Linked DNA regions of Homo sapiens: region 2 is linked to region 1. Evidence: promoter capture Hi-C in 16 types of primary human blood cells and fetal thymus (Javierre and others, 2016). All regions are on one chromosome and are shown on one strand. Each heading gives the region's core, a stretch centred on a gene start or on the middle of the fragment in contact. The rest is flanking DNA. Distances are from core to core; before and after follow the strand shown.

Region 1 (4,794 bases), core at 998-3,497:
ACCTTGATTTCCTCTGAGCTTCCTCACCAGATGAACTGGTGTTGTGTAAGGAGCACTGTATTGAGTCAGGACGATGGGTTATGTCCTTGCGAAGGCTTCTGACCTCTCTAGTCCTCAGTTTCTTTATCTGTAACATGAGTGACCTTAGCTAGATGGTCCTCAAAGAGCTCTTTACAGGTTAGAAGTGCTCTGATCCTGTACTTAATGAAATGGAGAAAATATTCATGCCATATTCATTTGCAGGGAAAAAATCCTTTGCAAAACATGATGTTTGACTCTTGTAATTTTTGTTTTAAAAAACACATGTAGCAGAATGAAGGTATTTGTTCTTCCCATCCCCACTCTGCTGCTGGGCAGAGGATATTTTAGCCATAGAATTCACTAGGATTCTTTGTCAGACAGGACTCTATTCTAAGGAATGGGAGCACTGCCATCATCCTCCTGGAATGGAGTCAGGGATGCCCCCCAGGACACTGGACCCCAATGGGCAAAGGTTCTCAGCAGCTTCAACCTAAAAGAGGCCCCTGAGGGGAGAAGGGACCCTGAAGGGAGGGGAGTGGTATAGGAAGGGAAGGGACACCATTCAAGGTAGGCCCTGTGTCAACTACAATTCAACCCTGTGAGTGCTGTAAGGAATCCAAGACATATGAGGTAAAGATCCTCTACACACAAGGAAGTCACCACCCAGCTGGCATCAAAAGCCATATTGATGAAAGACAACGAGAAGGAAGAGATGCATTGTTAGTGTTGCAGGGAGCACAGTGGATTGGGGCAGGTGGCCTGGATCCTGTCTCTGGCCGATCACTGCTGGAGGGAAGCCACTCTGCATCCCTGGGCCTCAGTTTCCTCATATAGAAGTGAGGCATTAAACTCAATTTCAAAATTACCTTCTGCCTCTGAGATTCTGGAGCGGATGGTTTGCTGAAGGAGGACTGAGCGTGGGCACCCGGAATTGTGTCATTTGATGAATGAGTCAGACTAGGGGCGTCAGAAAAATAATGTCTTCACAATCAACACAATGGGATAGGCAATTAAGAAACACTTTGCCGATGGCTTGAGTGTCTGTTCCACTCAGAGGATACATTCCCGAAGAGGGATGGGGTGACTCATCAGGCGGCTGTAACCTGATGAAACAGAGCTATCCAATTTCCTCGCTCCAATTCCAGGCAACCAAATTATCTTAATATGGTTTTCCAAAGCAGTTTCCCCAGGCAAGAGGAGAGACAGACATGAGTTTCCAGACTAAGCAGCAATTGAAAATTGACATTTTTTTATAGGAGTAAAATTATATCACATATGAGAAATGACTGAAACTTTATATGAAGTAGCATTCAAATGCAAAGGGTGTCATCATTAGCAATATCACCATTGGTTATTATTCTCATGCTGATTTGGTCAGCCTTTGAACCAGTTTTTCTTTTTTTTTTTCGAGCTGGTAAATCCTGGGTGACTTGGTGAGTATAGAAATTCTGGGTATGCAAAGCTGATCAAAGATGATAATTACTGATATTTAGAAAGTGCTTTCACATACAGTTATCTCAGTAGCTCTAGAGAGAGAAAATATTATTTTCCCCAGTCTGTAGTTCTGGAAGGCTCAGAGAGGTTAGGTGACTTTTACAGAATAATAGAGCTCGTCAGGGTTTGGCTGGCAGTCAAACCCAGGTGGTCAAGTCCAAATCCAACTCACAGTGTTGCTGCTTCTTAAGCGAGTGATTATCCGCCCATCCAGCACACCCCCTCACATATATACTCACAAACATTTACTATGCAAGATCCATGCCCAGTGGGACAGCTGCAGGAGGGATCAGAAGCTGAGGCAGAGAAAAAACCAAAATGCCAATATATTCTGGAGATCATAGAACCGTGTCTCTTTCCCTCTTCAAATGCTGCTAAAAGCACGTAGAGTCTTTCTGGACAGCCGTCCCATGGCTCAGTCTTTTAGGCTTCCCTTAGTCCCTGGACTCAGGCTGACTCTGCTCATGGTGGGTGTAGAAATCTCCCATTCTGCTTAGATGGAGTCTCTGGGGTGTCAGGCATACCCCTGTTGCCTGCATCTACCTCCTTTTCTGTCTGGTTGTTTCTGCTGAGGGTGGCTAGGGACCCTCAACTGAGATGGCCCCCCACAACAGCACTGTTGGACCTAACACACCCTGGGTTCCCGGCTTCTCAGCCACTGGAGCTGCCAGTCTCAAATTACCGGAGGGGAGGGAGGGCAGGCCTGGATCTCAGGATCTCGGTCCTGCATGCAATGCAAGCCTGAGCTCTCCCGCCATAAGGCTGCAGCGGTGTGGGCTCCTTGTGCCCAGATCCTTTGTATTCATAGGGGGAAGTGGAAGACCACGCTGCCTGACTGAGACTTTATTATAGAGGCTCAGGAAAAAGATGAACTGGTCCCATTCCTGCATCTCCTTTTGCTGGATCTACTTTGCTGCTTCCAGACTGAGAGGTGAGAGGCTGGTGACACGTAACCTATCTTGTCTCATCTGGGGCTATTGCTTTGGTGGGAGGTGGGGCAGGACAGGGAAGACAAAACAGATGATTCAACCGCATGGAAGTGTTCTGTGCTTCCTACTGACTCTGATCTTGGTAGGGCATGCCAGAAAAACAACTCATCCATCCACCCAAAGCTTGTCCCTCGCCAGTGTTGGGCCATCCCCCATTTTAGACCTCAGTCTTGTGTTGTTTGTCTTGAAATACACACAACACTCTGAATGTTAATCCAGATCCCTCTTGTTGAGTAGCTGCAGAGACGGCAGATGGAAAATATGCTCAGAAGTTGTTTAATGACCTTTTTGAAGATTATTCTAATGCTCTTCGTCCAGTGGAAGATACAGATAAAGTCCTGAATGTGACCCTGCAGATTACGCTCTCTCAGATTAAGGATATGGTGAGTAACACATGGTGCTGACTCTGTGGAATGATTCTTAGAGGATAAACAACCATGCTTTCTGAAGAGAATGTCTTAACTGGGAATTTGAGAGGGAATGATAGCTCCTTAAGCAAGCTGGTGGGAGAAGAGAATGTCGGGAAAAGGAAGCTTTCTACAAAACTAATTAATTTCAAGAAACGTTACCTAATCCTGGTCATTAACTGTAACAGTCTTAGATAATCTAAAGAAAGATGGGGTTACATACTGTATGCAGCCATTTATATAAAATGTCCAAAAGAGGTAAATCCGTAGAGACAGAAAACGGCATAGAGGTTGCCGGGGTCTGTGGGGAGGACGGGGAAAACGGCCAGTGAGTTCTTAATGATTACGGCGTTTCTTTGCGGGGGGAAGAAATGATCTTGAATTAGGCAGTGGTGATGGTTGCACAACGTTGTGAATATATTGGAAGCCGGTGCATTGTTCCCTTCGAAAATGATTAAAATGGTGAGTTTTAATGTGAATTTGATCTTAATTTTTTTTTTGAGACGGAGTCTTGCTGTCACCCAGGCTGGAGTGCAGTGGCATGATCTCCGCTCACTGTAAGCTCTGCCTCCTGGGTTCACACCATTCTCCTGCCTCAGCCTCCTGAGTAGCTGAGACTACAGGCACCCGCCACCACACCCGGCTAATTTTTTTTTTGTATTTTTAGTAGAGACAGGGTTTTACCGTGTTAGTCAGGATGGTCTCAATCTCCTGACCTCATGATTCGCCCGCCTCGGCCTCCCAAAGTGCTGGGATTACAGGCATGAGCCACCGCGCCCGGCCAATCTCAATTTTTTAAAAAAGGTAGTGTTTTAAGATGGCATAGCTTATTAGTGCTTATCTATGTTTAATTACACAATGTTATGAAACTTGAAAGATTTTCCTTCTGCACATTGTTATTTCCTGACTTTTGCTTTCAAGTACATCATTCATTGATCAATTTTCAGGAAATATAGGCAGTTGATCTATGCAAAGATATCAATACTAAAATATTTGTCCACTTTACATTCTGAACACTAAATCTAGGAGGAAAAAAAATATGATCTTGGCAGTCAATCAAGGGGATAGAATAAATAAAGAATAAAGCTCTCACTTTACTTATTGAAATTTGATGAGTGTTTGTGAAATTCCTATTGTGAAGAACAAGTGTCCTATCAGTGGAAAACATTTCAAGTGTCTGCTAGGTAAAGCGACATCTGGATTCATTGTGTAGGATGAAAGAAACCAAATTCTGACTGCTTATTTGTGGATCCGCCAAATCTGGCACGATGCCTATCTCACGTGGGACCGAGATCAGTACGATGGCCTAGACTCCATCAGGATCCCCAGTGACCTCGTGTGGAGGCCAGACATCGTCTTATATAACAAGTAAGTGCAGCTCAGAACTGAGGCTTTTCAGGCATGAACGTGTTGATTTCATAGAATTTAAACATAATGAAAAAGGAATGTTTAAAACATGCATGAAATTAAATATTAATCCATGTTCCTAGGACTTACTGAAATAAGAGACATAGAATCTTAGATCAGGAAATAATATGTCATAAAAGCTTAGAGCTGGAAAGAAACCATCCATCTACATGCCCCTTTTTCAGGTGGGAAAGTGGAGGCTGCATTAGTTTGCTAGGGCTAACTTTGCCATAACAGAGTAGCACAGATTAGATGACTTAACAAAAATGTGTTATCTCACAGTTCTGGAGTTGAGATGCCTGAGATGAAGGGGTTGACAGCGTGGTTTCCTCTGAGGGCTGTGAGGGAGGATCTGTACCAGGCCTCTCTTCTAGCTAATGGTGGTTTGCTGGCAGTCTTTGGTGTTCTTGGCATTATAGAAGCGTCACTCTGAGCTCTGCCTTCATCTTCACATGGCATTCTCCTGTGTGTTCCCT
Region 2 (4,468 bases), core at 1,276-3,775, 530 kb after region 1:
TCAAGCAATTCTCCCATCTCAGCCTCCCGAGTAGCTGGGATTACAGGCATGTGCCACCATGTCTAGCTAATTTTTGTATTTTTAATAGAGACGGGTTTTACCATGTTGGTCAGGCTGGTCTCGAACTCCTAACCTCAAGTGATCCATCCACTTTGGTCTCCCAAAGTGCTGGAATTACAGGTGTGAGCCACCACGCCTGGTCCTTTCAATTCTTAAAATGTTCAACCATCTCCCCACTCAACGCCCTGGCTTGCTCTCCCTGGAAAGCAGAATTGCAAGGACAGGGGTACTGCATGCACAGGGACACACAGTCACGGAGGGCCAAGGAAAAAGCTGGCTGTCTGGCAAGTTCCATGATTGTAATTTGAGAAAATCACATTTGTGTTTCTGCATCAGAAACTCAAGCTGAAACAGATACTAAACCCATGGCTGGGAAGGTAGGGTTAGGAGAGTAAGACAGTAAGGGCTAAGGAGTGAAGACAAGAGAAGTTCTTTAAAAATAAGTAAGAATTTTCCCTCACTGCCAGTCCACCAATGATCTGATTTCTGTCCCTGCAGTTTTGCCTTTTCCAAAATGTCATAAAAAGGGGGTCCTGTAATACCTAGCTTTCTGAACCTTGCTTCCTTCACTTAGCATAATTGTTGAGTGTATCAACAGTGCATTCCTTTTTATTGCTGAGAATTCCTTTGCATGGATGTACAAGAGTTTGTGTATCCATCTACCAGTTGATAGGTATTTTACTCTTTCCAGTTTTGGCAACTATGAATAAAGTCGATAATAAGAAAACAAACAACACAATTTTTTAAATGGGCAATAACATCTGAACAGATACGTCACCAAAGAAGATAAATGTTTTTCACAAGCACATGAAACATGCTGAACATCATTTGTTTGGAAAATGCCGATTAAAACCACAATGAATCACCACTTCACACATTTTAGAATGCTAAAATAACCACCACCACCCTCAAACAAACAAACCAAAAAATCCTGGCAATGCCAACTGCTGGTGAGGATGCGGAGCAACTGAACTTTCTTACTTTGCTGTTGCGAATGCAAAACGGTGCACCTCCTCAGAAAGCGGGCTGGCAGTTTCTCATAAACTTAAGCGTGCTGTCACCCTACAACCCAGTGATCCCACTCTTACGTATTTACCCAAGATGAGTGAACACTTCTGTTCACACAAAAACCTGTATGTGAATGATTACAGCGGCTTTATTCATGGTTCATGATTAACTTGCCTTTTAAGATGGATGGGCAACTGTCTCTTGATGGGTTTACCTCAGTTTTCCATGTTCACAGGCCTGGACACCATCAGTCATCTTTAAAAATTCACTAGGAGATTACAAAATAGAAGCACTTTACTTTCTTGGTGGTCACGAAACTCCATGCTCAGGAGCTTACTGTTGAGGCTGAATCCCAGAGGAGGGTTTAAGCAGGAGCTTACCCGATGATCGTTACTTCCAGTGGCAAGAAGCATAAAAAGAAACAAGCTGCTATTTTCACCCTCAACTGTTCTTAATCTTGCCTCCCTCTTCCTCCTCACTTTGCTTTTCCTATTCCACCTATGTGCCCTCATGCCCTAAAGAGATATCAGCTACATTAGAAGGCCACAGAAACTGAGGCCGATATAATTTTGATCCTTCAGTGTTGAGTTTAAATAAAAACATCATATATGGTTGCTGTTATTTGTTTTATCTTCGGATTCAACTGGAAGTTCCTAATTTGAAGGGACTTTTATTATTTTATAGTGTCCTTTTATTATTTTATTTTATTTTTGAGACAGAGTCTCGCTCTGTCACCCAGGCTGGAGTGCAGTGGTACGATCTCTACTCACTGAAACCTCCACCTCCCAGGTTCAAGCAATTCTCCTGCCTCAGCCTCCTGAGTAGCTAGGATTACAGGTGTGCGCCACCATGCCTGGCTAATTTTTTGTATTTTTAGTAGAATACAAAAGCACTGAACTGTGCAGTTTCCCGTGCAGAGATGGGGTTTCACTATGTTGGTCAGGCTGGTCTCGAACTCCTGACCTCAACTGATCTGCCTGCCTCGGCCTCCCAAAATGTTGAGATTACAGGCATGAGCCACCATGCACGGCCGACAGTGTCCTTTTAGATCAATTTTAGTGTATCACCATTTTTGTACCTGCTTTTACAAATAAAAGCTTTATTGGAACACAGCCATGCACATTCATTTATATCGTGTCTGTAGGTGCTTTTGCCTACCATGGCAGACACAGCATGACCTACAAAGCCTATTTACTGTCTGGTCTTTTGCAGAAAAAGTCGACTGACTCCTTCTCCAGCAGAATGACCTTTTAGTCATTCTATTAATATAAACGATGAGTATACTATTTGTTAGCTTTGTATAGCTACTAACATCTGTGCAGCATTTTCTATCTTCAGAGCATTTTTCATATCTATCATTTCACTATAGCACCCCATTAGCCCTATTAAATTAGCTATTATTATTATCAACCCCCTTTTTGTAAACAAAATAGGCTCAGAGGGAATGAGTGAACTCAATTATAAGAGGTGAAGCCAAAATTTGAACCTGTCTCATTCTCCAAATTGTCTGATCTTGTCACAAATAAATTGATACATCACACATAGCAAGCTGATCATTTAGTAGGTGAGTGAAGATCAACTTGAATTTTCATCCGCCTAAATTCTCCATTGAGCTCATTCAATTAAAGTTCCACACAAAGTTCACATATGGGGCTCCTGTTCTCTGAGATGACGTTCCCATGTACTCTCATTCCTGGGACTTAGAGACTGCTTAGCCTACAAAAAACTTCTCTTGCTTACAGTCTGTATTCCTTTCATATATATTAGTTAATTATATTGATCAATTATCAGGGAGCTGATCTAGGTTTTGTGGGACCTAAAGCTTAGACAATTTCTGGGGCTTTTTTTTTTTTTTTTAAGAATACAAAATTTATCTTCCTTTTGCAAAATCATTTTATATAAACCATGTGATCTAATTGCTAGCCCTCCTCCTAGGGTCTTGAAAGGGGCTCTAAATTTTCAGCCTCCTGAGTAGTTAGGTCTACAGGTATACCGTGCCTGGCTATTTTTTTTTTTTAGAGATGGGGTCTTGCTATGCTGCCCAGGCTGGTCTTGAAATTCTGGCCTCAAGCAATCCTCCCATGTCAGCCTCCCCAAGTGTTGGCATTACAGGGTGAGCCACCACACCCAGCTGGTTTTTAAAGTATGGTCCACAGACAGAATTAGTGTCACTTGGGAACTTAGTAGAAATGCAAATTCTCAGGCTCCACCCCAGACCTACTGAATTAATCAGAACCACTGAGGCTGGGGCAAAGCCAGCTTTGTTTGAAAAAGACCCACAGTGGATTCTGACATGCACTTGGATTTGAGCATCACTGCTTTACTGGACCATAGATTCTGCTTTCTTCTCTCATATAGAAAATTTTTTGAGGAAAAGAGGGGAAACTGCATCATTGAAGCGAGCTGTATAATTTTTCTTTAGGAACACAATGATCCAGTAACCAATCTGAACCATTAGCAATCTCAGCTTCAGAATTTCAGGAATCCATGACATGTGAAATGTGTCAGGATTAGCCAGAAGTAAAGGCTGGCAACTCAGTCTACTTTGATGGTTTCTGATTGCACTGATGATAAATTAACTGAACTCATGACTTATTAATTGAATTGAAAATGTATATTTAAAGACTCCTGATACAGTCAGAAGACTAAATCAGTAATTCCAAACTCTGAATCATCTTAGAAGTCAAAGAACTTTCCACAAAGGAACTAAATTACTTACCTCAAGCAAAATTCCTTTTTATTTAAAGAGTTGAGATTGGACCAAATTGGTCCTTTTAACCACCAAAGAGCCATTTTATTATTTTTGCCATCAAGGACCTCTTATTTTAATAACTTTTTTCTTTCACATCAATGGTAGTGTGCCAACTTTGTAACAAGGTTTGTGGAAGGCACATTTCACACATGCACATGAAAAGCCAATCACCATGCTTACGAACTACTAAAAGATCAATAATATTTATTTCTTATACATGTGTTACCTCGATTTGTCCCCACACCACCTTTCTATTTTTTTTTTCTTCTTTGAGACAGAGTCTTGCTCTGTCGCCCAGGCTGGAGTGCAGTGGTGAGATCTTGGCTCACTGCAATCTCCACCTCCCGGGTTCAAGTGATTCTCCTGCCTCAGACTCCTGAGTAGCTGGGATTACAGGCACCTGCCTGTAAACAGAAGAATAAAGTAGAATGAATCAGTGTATCCAATTTTAAAGCTGCATATATAGCTATAATAATCAACAGTGTGTGGTAATGGCAAATAATCCTAGCCCTAGGATTAAAATGGGCTGGGCACAGTGGCCCACAACTGTAATCCCAGCACTTTGGGAGGCTGAGTGAGGTAGGAGGATCAGTTGAGGCCAGGAGTTTGAGACTAGTCTGGGCAATATAGCAAGACCCCATCAATATG

What was found. The method cuts DNA at HindIII sites, captures the fragments that hold promoters and counts their contacts. A CHiCAGO score of 5 or more calls a contact.
Region 2: a fragment that was not itself captured here is called in contact with the fragment with the promoter of CHRNA9 in region 1 in 1 of 17 cell types (neutrophils); the score reaches 9.9 in neutrophils.

What each region holds. Positions count from the first base shown.
Region 1 is chr4:40,333,086-40,337,879 of GRCh38, forward strand. CHRNA9 (cholinergic receptor nicotinic alpha 9 subunit) reads left to right here and starts at 2,248. Exons shown (of 5, transcript NM_017581.4): 1 at 2,248-2,446; 2 at 2,742-2,887; 3 at 4,125-4,279. The coding sequence starts at 2,383. The HindIII fragment of the contact is 7,151 bases long and covers 1-2,625 here.
Region 2 is chr4:40,864,956-40,869,423 of GRCh38, forward strand. All of the region lies in intron 12 of APBB2 (amyloid beta precursor protein binding family B member 2), which reads right to left. It overlaps LOC124900907 (small nucleolar RNA U13), which reads right to left and starts at 4,015; the gene lies at 3,909-4,015. The HindIII fragment of the contact is 725 bases long and covers 2,164-2,888 here.